Linked DNA regions of Homo sapiens: all the other regions are linked to region 5. The links are contacts of gene promoters, found by promoter capture Hi-C in human tissues and cell types (Jung and others, 2019). All regions are on one chromosome and are shown on one strand. The core of a region is centred on a gene start or on the middle of the fragment in contact, and the rest is flanking DNA. Distances in the headings are between cores, read along the strand shown. Region 1 overlaps MGRN1 (mahogunin ring finger 1). Region 2 overlaps HMOX2 (heme oxygenase 2). Region 3 holds the start of C16orf96 (chromosome 16 open reading frame 96). Region 4 holds the start of CDIP1 (cell death inducing p53 target 1). Region 5 holds the start of SEC14L5 (SEC14 like lipid binding 5).

Region 1 (2,700 bases), core at 4-2,503, 310 kb after region 5:
CCGGTGCCAGCCGCCCGCGGGACTCACACTGCCCTGCCGTTCAGGAACTCCTCCGATGCCTGGCAGTAGATGGTGATGGCCACGCGGGCATCGGCGTCGAAGGTGAACTCCAGGCTGTAGAGCACCCGGGGCTTGTCGCCGTCCTCGGTGGGGCTGTCGGCATCGTCTTTGTACCTACCCCAGGCGGTGGAGAGAAAGGCAGCGGGTCAGCGGCCCCATCTGCGGAGGCTGCCTCCTCCCCTGCCAGGCTGAGGGGCCGTGGAGGTGGCTATGTGGACACAGCCCGCTTCTCCAGTAGACATAGGGGCTGTTTCCTATTTGTACATGAAAGCCCAGTGGTCCAGGGCTTGCCTCTCCTTCTTCCTGCCCACAGAAGACGGGGTACGTGCTTTTGGTTCAGAGACAGCCCCAGATGCCTCAAGTCTAGTCGGTTTAAGCAGTTTCTGAACCTGCTGAAATCTGGTGCTGGGTCATTCCTGTCTGTGGGGGGGCCGTCCTGTGCATGGCAGGAAGTCTGCAGCACCCCTGGCACCCACCTGAGATGCCAAGCACCCCACCTGGCTGCCTCCAGACACTGCCCAGGGTCCCTGTGCGGCACAGCTGAGAAGCCCTGGCTAAACGGCTCTTGTTCCACATGCCCTTTCCCTCGCTCAGCCCAGGACAGCCTCTCATTCCACACGGGAGGGCGCAGAAACTGGGGCCCCTCCCGCCTGCCCTTTTCCTCAAGCATCAAGCCAGAACCTCCACCACAGGCTGCGCCCCACAGAGCCACAGGGTCCCCAGGGGCAGGGTGAAGTTACCTCACCAGCCGCAGGGAGTCTTTGCGGATGTTCACCAGGCTCCGCAGCGTCTTCACGGGCTCGTGGGGGGCAGGAGTGACGTAGGGAAACTAGGAGAAAAACCACAGGGCCCCAGGTGACTCCCTCAGGAGCAGCCAACAACAGAAAACGGGTCAGGGTGCAGCAGCCACAGCCCCAGAGGGTATCCCTGGGATCTAGTCCCATGGGAGGGGCTATACTGGGTGCACTGTTCTCATTTACAGGTAGAAGCTGCAGGCCACGCAGCCAGCACACGCAACGGCCAGGACCAAATCACCCTGAGCAAATCCAGCCAGGCAGCCTCAACGCCAGACCCCTGCACGCTGGGGCTGCCCATCCCCAACCTGCTCTCCCAGGCTTCCCATATCCATCACTGCCCCGAGCACCCTCAGCCCCTTCCTCAGTCCCCACCCTTTCCATCCCCAAAGCTTCCTACGAGCACAGCTCAGCAACCCGCCCCAGGGCCCCCAAAGTTTACTGGCTCTTCCGGCCTCCTGTCCCCTGAGGCCTGCACCCTCTCACCTCTTCCTCTGTTCCCAGGCCCCCTGCCTTCTAGCTTCTTCTGGAGGGGCCCCCTTCCCACCTATCATGGCTTGGTTCAGCCATGGCCTCTCCAGTAGAGCCTCCCTTTCTGCCCCTTCTCTCTTCTACCCATTTGTCCCGTATTAATTGTCTACGCCCCCACCAGGTAGCAGAGGCAGGGTCTGCTTTCACCCCAAGCCCTGGAAGAGCACTAGGCACGCAGCAGGTGCCACATGTGTGCTGAACAGACAGCTCACAGTACTCGAGTACTATGACAGTACTCGAATGTGCCCTTCTCTGGCAACGAGGGGAAGATGTTAGCCAGCTGTCTGCATCTCTCCTTTGGACCATGTCTCTTGCCCACTGTTCTAGGGAAAGTAAATATTCTTTTTTTTTTTTTTCTTTGAGACAGTCTCCCTTTGTTGCCCAGTCTGGAGTGTAGTGGTGCAATCTCGGCTCACTGCCACCTCCGCCTCTCAGATTCAAGTGATTCTCCTGCCTCAGCCTCCCGAGTAGTTGGGATTACAGGCACGTGCCACCACACCCGGCTAATTTTTCTTTTTTTTCAGTAGAGACGGGGTTTCACCATTTTGGCCAGGCTTGTCTCAAACTCCTGACCTCAGGTGATCTGCCCGCCTCAGCCTCCCCAAGTGCTGGGATTACAGGCGTGAGCCACAATGCCCAGTCTGTAAATACTATTTTTGCCTTGTAAAGAAAGTCATCCAAGAAGGCTGGAATCAAATCCACCATGTTCCGCAGCCGTTGCAGCCCAGACGCACCCATTCAGTATGGCTGCTCTGTTTCTCAGTGACCTGCCCCTGGCCATCTGGCCTCTAGGGGGCAGCACCAGGACACAACCCATTCCAGGGCACGTGCCCACACCCAAGCTCAACTGGAATCCTGCCAGGAGCTCTGCCCCCTTTAGGGGTGATTTGGTGCCTGCTTGCCCTCATGGCTGGGATGCGGACTGCTGGGGACAGGGGCCTCCCACCCCCACAGCCCCATGAGACAGCCCTGTCCAGACCCACCTGGACCGGGCGGCTGCCCAGGAAGTTCAGATCCATGTTCTCTCCAAAGAGGTAACCTTCAGGGTGGGGGGTGTCGAATTTCTCTCCTCCCATGAAAAAGTGCGAAGCAAAGTAGTTTCCTGTTTAAAAAAGGAAACACGATTATAGATTTTTTTTTTTTTTTTTTGAGACAGAGTCTCAGGCTAGAGTGCAGTGGCGCTCCACCCAGGCTGGAGTGCAGTGGCGCTATCTCAGCTCACTGCAAGCTCCGCCCACCGGGTTCAAGCGATTCTTCTGCCTCAGCCTCCCGAGTAGCTGGGATTACCGGCACCCACCACCACGCCCAGCTGATT
Region 2 (2,788 bases), core at 107-2,606, 450 kb after region 5:
GAGCACCTGCCCTGCCTCCTTGGATGAGACAATGGACCAGTGGGGAGAGTTCTAAGCAGCCGAAGCTGTATGCGGTCCCTGCAGGGCCAAGCAGGCACCCAGGGGTCCAGAGCTCATGGCCCATGGCCACTCCCCAGTGCTGCCAACAGACAAAACCAGGTGTGCTGAGCACGACAGGTGCTGGGCCCACCTGATTCAGTGCAGCCAGCCCCCATCGCTCACCTCATTTGGTTCTCCTTTTCTAGGGCCCCAGAGTTCTTTTTTTCTGACTCGTCTACCCCCTCTGAGGTTTCCACTTCCGCTGACATTGCTGCTGGGTGTGGTTCTTGCTGCTCTCGCTCCTCTGGTCCTGCAGAGACACAAGGAGCTGGTGATGTGGCACCCACGGCAGTCACTTCCCCAAATACCTGTCGGTTCTGCTTTCCTCAGAGCGAATGTAACCAAGGTGACACCCACACACCCCAGGATTGTTTTCTTTAAAATAAAGCTCTGCCATTACTGGGACCATAGTGGAATATGGAAAAAATCTGAATATGAACAATGTATTAGGTAATAGCATTGTATTGACATTAAGCTTGCTGGTTTTTAAAAATAATTGTACTGCGATTATATAAGAGAATGTCTTTGTTCCTAAGAAATACACACTGGGGTATTCAGAAGTAAAGGTACACTGCCTGCAACTCCCTGTCAGATGGTTCAGAAGACAGTGTGTGTGCATGTGCATATGCTGCAGGGTGGGGGACACTGGCAAGTCAGAAAAGCAAACAAGGCAAAATCCTAGCAGTGAATCTGGGGAAGAGGTATGAGAGTTCTTTGTACTATTCTTACCATTTTTCTGTATGCTTAAAACTGTATCAAGGCAGGGCACAGTGGCTCATGCCTGTAATCCCAGCACTTTGGGAGGCCGAGGCAGACTGGAGTTTGAGACTAGCCTGGTTAACATGGTGAAACCCTGTCTCTACTAAAAATACAAAAAATAGCCGGGCATGGTGGTGCACACTTGTAATCCCAGCTACTCGGGAGGCTCAGGCAGGAGAATCTCTTGAGCCCAGGAGGCAGAGGTTGCAGTGAGCCGAGATCACGCCGTTGCACTCCAGCCTGGGCAACAAGAGCGAAACTGTCTTAAAAAAAAAAAAAAAAAAAAAAAAAAGACCGTATCAAAATTAAAAGTTAGGCCAGACACGGTGGCTCATGCCTGTAATCCCACCACTTTGGGAGGCCAAGGTGGGTGGATCACCTGAGGTTAGGAGTTTAAGACCAGCCTGACCAACATGGAGAAACCCTGTTTCTACTAAAAATGCAAAATTAGCCGGATGTGGTGGCGCGTGCCTGTAATCCCAGCTACTCAGGAGGCTGAGGCAGGAGAATCACTTGAACCTACGAAGCAGAAGTTGCAGTGAGCCAAGATCGCGCCACTGCACTCCAGCCTGGGCAATAAGAGTGAAACTCTGTCCAAAAAAAAAAAAAAAAAAAAAAAATTGAAAGTTACCAAAAACAAAGAAAACCTCAAAAACCTTAGGGAAACAAAAAGCTTGGCAAGCAACGCACAGTTCCACCCCTCTGCAAGCGTGCTGAGGCCAGTTCATCCTACCTGTGAGAGGCTGGGTGCCTTGTGCAGAAGGCAGCCTACAGGAGTTACCAAAAAAGCAGACTGTCCCTAGCCTACTCAGGACTTTGCTAGGCTGAAGGAAATATTAAGTTGGCCAATCAATTCCCATTGCCTGCTGCAAATGCTGAGCCTTTGTCAGCCAGGGAAACACAGTCCCATAACAAGGCAAGCTCATCCTCCATCCCTCGGGGCTTCTGCTCAGGCAATGTAAGGCGCAGCCCATTTGGGGAATCTTCCACATGAATAGCAGCACAGTAGCACCGACAACTAATAAAGTAACTCACAAAGACAGAACTGGGGCCAAATCAGGCCAAACTGGGCCAAGGAAAAAGAACTTATTTACTGAGCATTTTCTATGTGCTCTACCCAGAAACAGGTGTCAAGAAGAACACAGAAGTGTTAAGAAATGGTCCTTAAAAGGCCCAAGGCACATATCCTTCCTGAGTTTTCTCTAGATACCTAGTTACATTTTTGTTATCTTTTAGGATATTATAGTACATGGTTTGCTCACTGAGGTCTTTTTGAACCATCTCTCTCACCTTTAGATTTAGCATCTCTACTGGGATTATTTTAGGAAGTCAAGCAATAACTCATATAGCACAATGCCTACCATGTGATAAGCACTCAATGAATGTTACATCATGATCATACTTTATTTTGACTGAGGCTTAGTGATGTCTGAGAACACTCAGAAAATAAACATCGGGATGTACAGAAAAATGGAACCTTCTCTTGACTCCAAATCAGAGACACTCTACTCTGCAATAATGCTGATGAACTGTACGATGCACAGCACAGTCTAGAAGAATGTGAAAGCAGGCAGGTATTACATGCAGGGAAGAGTATGCAGAGGGCTTCCTGGGGCAGGACCCTCAACACAGACAGGATTTGGGGCAGGGCTGGGGGAGGGCCTCCAGATCAAGGGAATATTATGAACAAAGCCAGAAATGGGTAGTTCACAGAGATAGCATAAGGCTGCCCAGCTGTGCGTCCACTTACCAAGGGGCAAAAACAGGCATTGCAAGCTGTAGAATAAGCCTCACATGGGCCTTCAGACCTTGATTTATAAATGTTTTCTTTTTTTTTTTTGGTAAAAGTACAGCTTTGCTAGCCGGGCGCGGTGGCTCACGCCTGTAATCCCAACACTTTGGGAGGCCGAGGTGGGCAGATCAGGAGGTC
Region 3 (2,700 bases), core at 201-2,700, 400 kb after region 5:
GTTGAGGTGGGAGGATTGCTTGAGTCTGGGAGGTCGAGGCTACAGTGAGCCATGACTGAGTCACTGCACTCCAGCCTGGATGACAGAGTGACACCCTGTCTCAAAAAAAAATTGGGGTGAAATTCACATAATGTACAATTAGCCATTTTTAAGTGAACAATTCAGTGTCATTTAGTACATCAGTGAGGTTGTATAACTACCACCTCCATCTAGTTCCAAAACATTTTCATCACCCCAAAAGGAAACCCTATATCCACAAAGCAATTACTCCCCATTCTCTCCTCCTCCAAGCCCCTGGCAACCACTGCTTTCTGTCTCCATGGATTTACCTATTCTGGACATTTCGTATAAATGGAATCATACACTGGGTAGCCTTTTGTGTCTGGCTTCTTTGCAATACTTGATGGAGGCTGCAAGCTTGGCGTTTTGGTTGTGCCTGACTCTAAAGCACCCTTCTTCCCACTCTGCATAAGGAGATGGCCCATCGTAGGTGAGTAAGCAACAAGATGTCCCAGGAGAAGGCTGGGCGCAGTGGCTCACGCTTGTCATCCCAGCACTTTAGGAAGCCGAGGCAGGTGGATCAGTTGAGATCAGGGGTTTGAGACCAGCCTGGCCAACATAGTGAAACCCCATCTCTACTAAAAATACAAAAATTAGCCGGGTGTGGTGGCATGTGCCTGAAATCCTAGCTACTAGGGAGGCTGAGGCAGGAGAATCACTTGAACCCGGGAGGCGGAGGTTGCAGTGAGCCAAGATCACACCACTGCACTCCAGCCTGGGTGACAGAGCGAGACGGAGTCTCAAAAACAAAAAAAAGACGTCCCAGGAGAGAGCCAGTGGTGAAGGGAGGAAAAGAAGTGTCTGGAGGCTGGGGGCGTACCTTGGCCATGACTTCATCATGACCCTCCACCATCTTCCGGAGCTTGATCAGATGCCACAGGTCCTGGACGGGCCGGGCAGTGCCCTGGCTGGCTTCCAGCAGCTGGGCAGTGGAGGGCAGGTCCTGCAGCAGGGCCAGCTGGTTCTCCAACTTGTCGAGGCGGCTCACCACGTGGTCGAAGACATTGCTGAGCCTCTTCATGGGGTTGAGGATAGGCTGGGCGTCTCCTTCCCTGGGCATGATGACCACCTGCGAGGTCTGCAGGAAGTCCTCATCGCCTGAGAGGACTTTCTTGAGCTCGGCCATGTGGATGTGCTCCAAGATGCCGTGCAGCAGGAGGTGCAGGGCCTTGAAGTTCAGCACCCCGCACTGTGGGATGGCGATGTTGGCCAGCTCGGTGAACGTGAGTGAGAAGCTCATCCTGCCAGGGTGGGTCAGTGGGGCTGGGGTTCCAGGTGTCCTCAAGGACAAGGGGTAGCTTTCAGTGGTTCCGAGAGCTACATGGACTGGTCCTCAGAGGCCTGGGGTGGTGGTGAGTCACAGCAGTCAGGGAGGAATGGCCTCTGTTCTGGCTGGAGCTCAGATCAGAGTCTCTGGTTGCCAGGACACCAAAGAATGTGATGAAACGGGCGCAATTCAAAGTCTGGAGTGGGGCAGGTGCTCCCTGGTAAGCCTCACCCAGAGTAGGTGCTCAGTTAATATTGGATGAATGTTTGAATAGCTGATGGCAGCCTCTTCATTCAAGCCCTCTGGTGATGTGAGACTGGTAACTTTTTCCTAGAAGCACATATGGAAGGGATGGAGAGGCAGCTCCCTCCTTGGAATTTTCTCGAATCCGGGCAGAAGACAGGTTTCTTGGAGTTAGGAAGACCCAGGTTTTACAAAGAGATAAGAATCTGAAGTACTGGCTGGGTGGGTGTGGGGGTTCAGGCCTGTAATCCCAGCACTTTGGGGAGGCAAAGGCGGGAGGACTGCTTGAAGCCAGGAGTTCGAGAGCAGCCTGGGCAACATAGTGAGACCCTGTTTCTACAAAAAAAAATTTGTAATTAGCTGGATGTGCTGGCGCACATCTGTAGTCCCAGCTACTCAGGAGGATGGGGTGGGAGGATTGCTTGAAGCCAGGAGTTTGAGGCTACAGTGAGCTATGATTGTGCCACTGCACTTAGCCTGGGCAACAGAGTGAGACCTTGCCTCAAAAAAAAAAAAAAAAAGAAAAGAAAAGAAAAAGAAAAGAGAAAAGGCCGGGCACAGTGGCTGACATATGTAATCCCAGCACTCTGGGAGGCCAAGGCGGGTGGACCACGGGGTCAGGAATTCAAGACTAGCCTGGCCAAGACGGTGAAACTCCGCCTCTACTAAAAATACAAAAATCAGCCAGGCGTGGTGGCACGTGCCTGTAATCCCAGCTACTCTGGAGGCTGAGGCAGAGAATTGCTTAAATCCGGGAGGTGGAGGTTTCAGTGAGCCAAGATCGTGCCACTGCACTCCAGCCTGGGCGACAGAGCGAGACTCCGTCTCAAAAGAAAAAAAAAAGAATCTGAAGAACTACATTCATTTCTGGACGCATCCAAAGGCCCCCCACAGTGTTCCATTTTCTCGTGTGTGTGTGTGTGTGTGTGTGTGTGTGTGTGTGTGTGTGTAGTGTGTGTGACAAAGTCTTTCTCTGTTACCCAGGCAGGAGTGCAGTGGCGCGATCTCCGCTCACTGCAACCTCCGCCTCCTGGGTTCAAGCGATTCTCCTGCCTCAGCCTCCTGAGTAGCTGGGATCACAGGCGCCTGCCACCACGCCCAGCTAATTTTTATATTTTTAGTGGAGATGG
Region 4 (2,820 bases), core at 305-2,804, 420 kb after region 5:
GAATGTCTTTTCAATTTCATGCCCCTGCCTCAGCATCGCCTCCTCTGAGAGGCCTTTTCTAACCAACCTGTCTAGTGGCACCACCCCGTAACTCTGTTAGGGCGTCCCTTCCTCTCCTTCACAGTCCTGGGCATTTTGTGGTTTCCTTGTATACTGTCTGTAACAAAGGAAGTACCTGAGCAAGTAGCCACCCAGTGGGTTCTTCTTCCTGGCTGCCCAGATAGAGCCAATGTATCAAGACAGGGGAACTGCAATAGAGAAAGAGTTTAATCCACACAGAGCTGGCTGAATGGGAGACCAAAGTTTCATTACTCAAATCAGTCTCCCTGGAAATTCAGAGCCTAGAGTTTTTAAAGGGTAATTTGGTAGATAAGCTGCCAAGGAGTAGGGAGTGCTGATTGGTGGGGTGGGAGATGAAATCACAGGGTGTTGAAGGATGCAAGAACTGGTTGAGTCAGATTACAGCTCTAGGTGGCCTTGGCTGGTGCATCAGACTGCAGGGTCAGAAAAACACCTAAGAGTACCAATCTTAGGTTTTACAATAGTGATATTATACCTAGGATCAACTGGGGAGGTTTAGAATCTTGTGGCCTCTGGGTGCATGACTCCTAAACCGTAATTTCTTTCTTTCTTTCTTTTTTTGAGATGGAGTCTCAGTCTCTTGCTCAGGCTGGAGTGCAGAGGCATAATCTCAGCTCACTGCAACCTCCATCTCTCGGGTTCAAGCAATTTTTGGGCTTCAGCCTCCCTAGTAGTTGGGATTACAGGTGCGTGCCACCATACCCGGCTAATTTTTGTATTTTTAAATAGAGACATGGTTTCACCATGTTGGCCAGGCTGGTCTCAAACTCCTGACCTCAAGTGATCCACCTGCGTCAGCCTTCCAAAGTGCTGGGATTACAGGCGTTAGCCACTGAGCTGGGCCCTAAACTATAATGTCTAATCTTGTAGCTAACGTGTTACTCTTACAAAGGAAGCCTGGTTCTCAGGCAACAAGGGGGTTTGTTTTGGGAAAGGGCTGTTAACTATCTTTGTTTCAATATTAAACTATAAACTAAGTTGCTCCCAAAGTTAGTTCTGCCTATGCCTAGGAATGAACAAGGACAACCTGGAGGTTAGAAGCAAGATGGAGTGGGTTAGGTCAGCTCTCTTTCACTGTCATAATTTTCTGTTGTAATTTTTGCAAAGGCAGTTTCAAGCGCAGGGACAGTGACCGTGTGGTTCAAGGTTTTATGTAATGCACCTCCCAAACTCAATAAATATTAGTCGCATAAAAGAAAAAATGCAGCCCTGGAGGAAGATGCCCTGCCCTGTTGCTGGCATGAGTGAAGAGGAGGCGCTCACAGGGACGGTTCTTTCCCTATTCTCCAGCCTCGTGTACATTGGGCAAACAGGCCCCGACCATCCCACGTGCTCAGCCCCAGCTCTAGGCCAAATCGCCTCCGCTCCCACTGACGTCATCACGGCGCATCACGTGCCTCCCGAGACCCCACCCCCCACCGTGACGTCCCGGGCCTCGGCCCTGGTCCAAAGTCTACCCGCCTCCTTGTGACAGAAGTGCGACTGCCAGCTGCCGAGGCGTTCGGTCCTGCTGTTGCGGCCGCTGCCCCAGGGCTGCGGGGACGGTGAGTCGACTGGACGCATTCGGAGACGGCTTCGCGCGGGAGCCCTCCTCCCCGGGGGAAGGGTCTGGGCGCCAGCTCTCCTCAGGTCGGGGCGTGACCTCGGACCGTGGCGCCCCCTCCCCGCCCCCGCCCGCGGCGCCTGGGCGGTGCATGCCGGGCACCGTAGTCCCCAGCCTCTCAGAGCGGGTTGTGGTGGGGGGGGTGACCGGGCGGACTACAAGTCCTAGAAGCCTCTGGGCGGTGGGGTGGGCGGTGGGTTGGGGGGTTTCGTTGTGCGCGCAAAGCCGCGCGGGGCTGAGGGTCTTGTTCTGCCGGCGCCTGTCCGGACCCGGGCCCCTCTCCGCTTTCGGCCGGCCTCGGGCACCGGGCTTCTGGAGGTAAAGCGGGGCCGGCGGTTGGGGCGCGGCATGGCGGGGCCCGTCCTCCCCTCAGGGCGCTGCCGAGACCTAGCGCGGCCCTGGGGATGTCGAAGCCGCTGCGGTGGCGGGGCCCGGGCGGGCGCCCCGCTGTGTGCCGCGGGGTTGTGCGCCCGGAATGGCAGCCTGCTCGCCCGCACGTTTTTCCGTCAGGGAAGGTTGTGGAAATTGCCATCTCCGTCTTGCAGGGCGAGACGGGGAGGGGAGGGGTGGGAGTTGTTTTCTCAAGGAAAGGGGGTCGAGGAGGAGCCCCGTGGCCGAGCCAGCCCCTGCCGAGCCCCGCGGGTGACCTTGGCCGTCCCGGAGCCCAGCAGTGTCCTGCACCCGCGCCCGGCTCGCCGACGTGTGGAGTCGGGATGTGGCGCTCGGCCGCGCATCCCCGGCGGAGATGGCGACGGCCTGGCCTAGCTTGGGGCTAGGAGTCGCGCCTTCGAGGACCTTGGCTTAGCGAGTTCCTTGGGGGGCTTCTCAACAGGTGTTAGATGAGGTGGGGCGAGTGGCTGTGAGTTCCTCCAAAGGTGGGCTCAAGATCCTCTGCGTCAGAACCACCTGGGGCTCTTGGGAAACGGGCAGATTCCTGGGGCCCACCCCAGGTGTTGGGATGCTGTAGTTCCGTCGCGCTGCCCAGGAATCTGCATTTAGTAGGCTCCCCAGATCATTCCCGGGCGCAGCTGGGGCTGAGAACCTGTCCCAGTGAGGGGGTTGGCGGGCCCGGGGGCAGGGACGTTCCATAGTGTTTCTGCCAGTTTCTTCTGTATTCTGGGGCCTGATGCTGGGCG
Region 5 (2,700 bases), core at 114-2,613:
TATGAAATGACAGCAGTGGCTTGGCCCCTGATACCTTTGTTTTCTATCAGGAGAGTCTAAAGTAAGGGAGCAGGTCAGCTTCAACAAGGAGAAGGAAGAAAGACTTTGTGTTTTGGTCACTGGGCCGAGGATAGGATGGTTGGACAGAGAGGTCACTGGATAGAAGTTAAACCCACCAGGTCAGCTGAGTAACTCACTAATTCCTTCTGATCTGGGAGTCTAAGGAGCTCCGTCTTCCTACCGCCATAGCTGATCTCAAGCCCCTCCAACTGTCACATGGGGGCCCAAGAATCAGGAGTCACTCACCGCCATGACCAGCTCAAACGGGTACTTGTAGACTCGGACAGGAGACTGGTATCTTTGCACCATGTTCACGCTGGAGCACCAATGGAGGTCACCAGGCAGGGGTGTGCACAGAGCCTGGGGCGAGGAGTGACTGGTGAGGTTGCAGCTCCCACCTCGGGAAGCAGGGACACCACCCACCAAGTGTAAGGGGCAGCCCCTGGCCCCACCCACACAGCTCCCCAGCCTTCAAATTGAGAAGGCTGATATTCCCCCCAAATTACTCCAGGCCAAGCCCCAACAGCTTCCCTGTCATTAGCCATGGCCCCAGACCACGCTCAGCCTTCCAAGAGCAGTCAGCACCCCCAAACTTTCCTCTACCCCCACCCCTTCACACTGAGGGCCCCCAGAAGCCTTACGGCCACCCACACAGACACACACACATTTGCAATTCTTACACTCCCACGGTTCTATTCACGCATGCACCCCGCAGCTTGCCACAGACTTGCTGGCCTACAGCCCACCCCCGAGTCTCCTTGCACCTGCCCTCCCATTTTCCTCCCAGACACCCTGACATACACACACAGCCTTCACCACATTTCACAGGCACTGTCTCTATCACACACATGTACACACGCAGGTTTCCCTCCCACACGGGACTGCTTTTGCACACGCCTCCAACTTTGCACACACACCCTGAAACACGCACCTGCCCAGCTCCACGCACGCAATTCCCCTGGTGTGCACAGACGTGCACACACGCACACACACCCGTGCGCACATGCACACACACGTACACACACGTAGAGGCAATCGCACACGCATGCACACACAGGTCCCCGCAGCTTTGCTCACCCTCGCCCTCGGGAGCCTTTGGGAATGCAGCCTAGGGGAAGTGCCCTGGAAGCCCGCCTGGCTCGGGAGCTGAGCGCTTACCCGCGCCCGCCTGGCCTGGAGCGCAGTACCTGAGGCGGGGCCCGATCGCGGATCTCTAGCCTGGTGTGTCCCGCCTTGAACACCCTGCGGCCAGGACAGCTGTGGAAGGCCGGAGGGGCGGGAGCGAAACCTGCCGGGCCGAGAGAGCTCCAGGACCCGGGACAGCGGAGATCCTGGCCTGGCCCCGCCCCTGACCTGGTCCCGCCCACGTCCCCGGCCATGGCCCCGCCCAGGTTGGCCCTGCCCCCTAACTGGTCCCGCCCCACTCTGGCCCCGCCCCAGGCGAACTCCCCCTGGTTCTAGCCCCGCCCCTTATTTTTAGATGTCGCTTGTTTGACCACGCCCTCAGCCCAGTCCTTTCTCTAGATTGGTCACACCTCAGGAAGTCCCCTCCCCCTTCACTGGCCCCGCCCTCCAAGGCCCTCAGCCTCGGGGAATGGTAGGCCACAGGACGACCCCGCCCTAATCTAGCTCTGCCTCCAAGCAGACCCTGAGTCCGGGCCGACCCGCCCCGGACCCTGCGTCTGGCCGACAGTACTGTTTACATTTGTAGATAAGCAGAATTTACGCTTTTCTTGCTCAGATTAACCTCGCCCTCGTCCCGCTGCACTTGGGTCTGACTGGCTCCTCCACCTGTCCCCGCCCCACGGCCCGCGCATGCACCTTCGCCCACTCTGCACACCTTCACAGAGCGCCTGCTGGGGGTCAGCCCTGTCCAGGCGCTGGAGAGCCGCCGGTGAGCCACACGCACGAATCCCTGCCCTCGTGGAGTTTATACTACGGTGGGGAGACAGACACTCAATAAATAAGGCAAATATATGATGTGTGAGGTAGTGAAAAACTCTAACGAGAGAAAAATAAGCAGGAAAGGGGCTCAAGGAGCCAGCGGAGAGAAAGGACAATTTAAAACAGGTAAGAGGCCGGGCGCCATGTCTCACGCCTGTAATCCAAACACTTTAGGAGGCGGAAGCGGGAGGACCGCTTGAACCCAGGAGTTGGAGACCACCCTGGGTAACATAGCAAGAACCTATCTCTACAAAAAAATTTTTTTTTAGTTTAGGCAGGGCGCGGTGGCTCACGCCTGTAATCCCAGCACACTGAGAGGCCAAGGCAGGCAGATCAGCTGAGGTCAGGAGTTCGAGAACAGCATGGCCAATATGAGGAAACCCCGTCTCTACTAAAATACAAAATTAGCCGGGCATGGTGGCGTATACCTGTAATCTCAGCTACTCGGGAGGCTGAGGCAGGAGAATCGCTTGAATCAAGGAGGCGGAGGTTGCAGTGAGCCGAGACTGCGCCACTGCACTCCAGCCTGGGCAAGAAGAACAAAGCTCCGTCGCAAAAAAAAAAAAAAAAAATTAGCCAGGCGTGTTGGCACGTGCCTGTGGTCCCAGCTACTCAAGAGGCTGAGGCAGGAGGATCCCTTGAGCCCAGAAGTTCAAAGCTGCAGTGAGCTGTTACCTGGCCACTGCACTCCAGCCT

Evidence for each region. Contacts are between HindIII fragments. The study calls those that stand out against the background at their distance.
Region 1: a fragment that was not itself captured here is called in contact with the fragment with the promoter of SEC14L5 in region 5 in 1 of the 25 tissues and cell types used here (dorsolateral prefrontal cortex).
Region 2: a contact is called between a fragment that was not itself captured here and the fragment with the promoter of SEC14L5 in region 5, in 1 of the 25 tissues and cell types used here (hippocampus).
Region 3: a contact is called between the fragment with the promoter of C16orf96 here and the fragment with the promoter of SEC14L5 in region 5, in 1 of the 25 tissues and cell types used here (mesenchymal stem cells).
Region 4: a contact is called between the fragment with the promoter of CDIP1 here and the fragment with the promoter of SEC14L5 in region 5, in 1 of the 25 tissues and cell types used here (neural progenitor cells).

Annotation. Positions count from the first base shown.
Region 1 is chr16:4,650,152-4,652,851 of GRCh38, reverse strand. MGRN1 (mahogunin ring finger 1) reads right to left here. Exons shown (of 17, transcript NM_015246.4): 2 at 2,369-2,487; 3 at 801-889; 4 at 28-174. Among named protein-coding and RNA genes, the nearest start is that of MIR6769A, 20 kb to the left of the region's middle. The HindIII fragment of the contact is 6,104 bases long and covers 1-2,700 here.
Region 2 is chr16:4,503,045-4,505,832 of GRCh38, reverse strand. It overlaps HMOX2 (heme oxygenase 2), which reads right to left. Exons shown (of 6, transcript NM_002134.4): 2 at 223-349. The coding sequence starts at 308. Among named protein-coding and RNA genes, the nearest start is that of HMOX2, 28 kb to the right of the region's middle. The HindIII fragment of the contact is 3,869 bases long and covers 1-2,788 here.
Region 3 is chr16:4,555,090-4,557,789 of GRCh38, reverse strand. C16orf96 (chromosome 16 open reading frame 96) reads right to left here and starts at 1,450. Exons shown (of 16, transcript NM_001145011.2): 1 at 881-1,450. The coding sequence starts at 1,300. The HindIII fragment of the contact is 10,803 bases long and covers 1-2,700 here.
Region 4 is chr16:4,537,507-4,540,326 of GRCh38, reverse strand. It overlaps CDIP1 (cell death inducing p53 target 1), which reads left to right and starts at 1,554. Exons shown (of 6, transcript NM_013399.3): 1 at 1,554-1,625. It also overlaps a transcript of C16orf96 not described here. RefSeq lists silencers at 1,638-1,927, 1,938-2,157. The HindIII fragment of the contact is 9,452 bases long and covers 1-2,820 here.
Region 5 is chr16:4,956,993-4,959,692 of GRCh38, reverse strand. It overlaps SEC14L5 (SEC14 like lipid binding 5), which reads right to left and starts at 1,363. Exons shown (of 16, transcript NM_014692.2): 1 at 1,248-1,363; 2 at 307-420. The coding sequence starts at 369. RefSeq lists an enhancer at 836-1,371 and silencers at 1,175-1,470, 1,269-1,478. The HindIII fragment of the contact is 18,853 bases long and covers 1-2,700 here.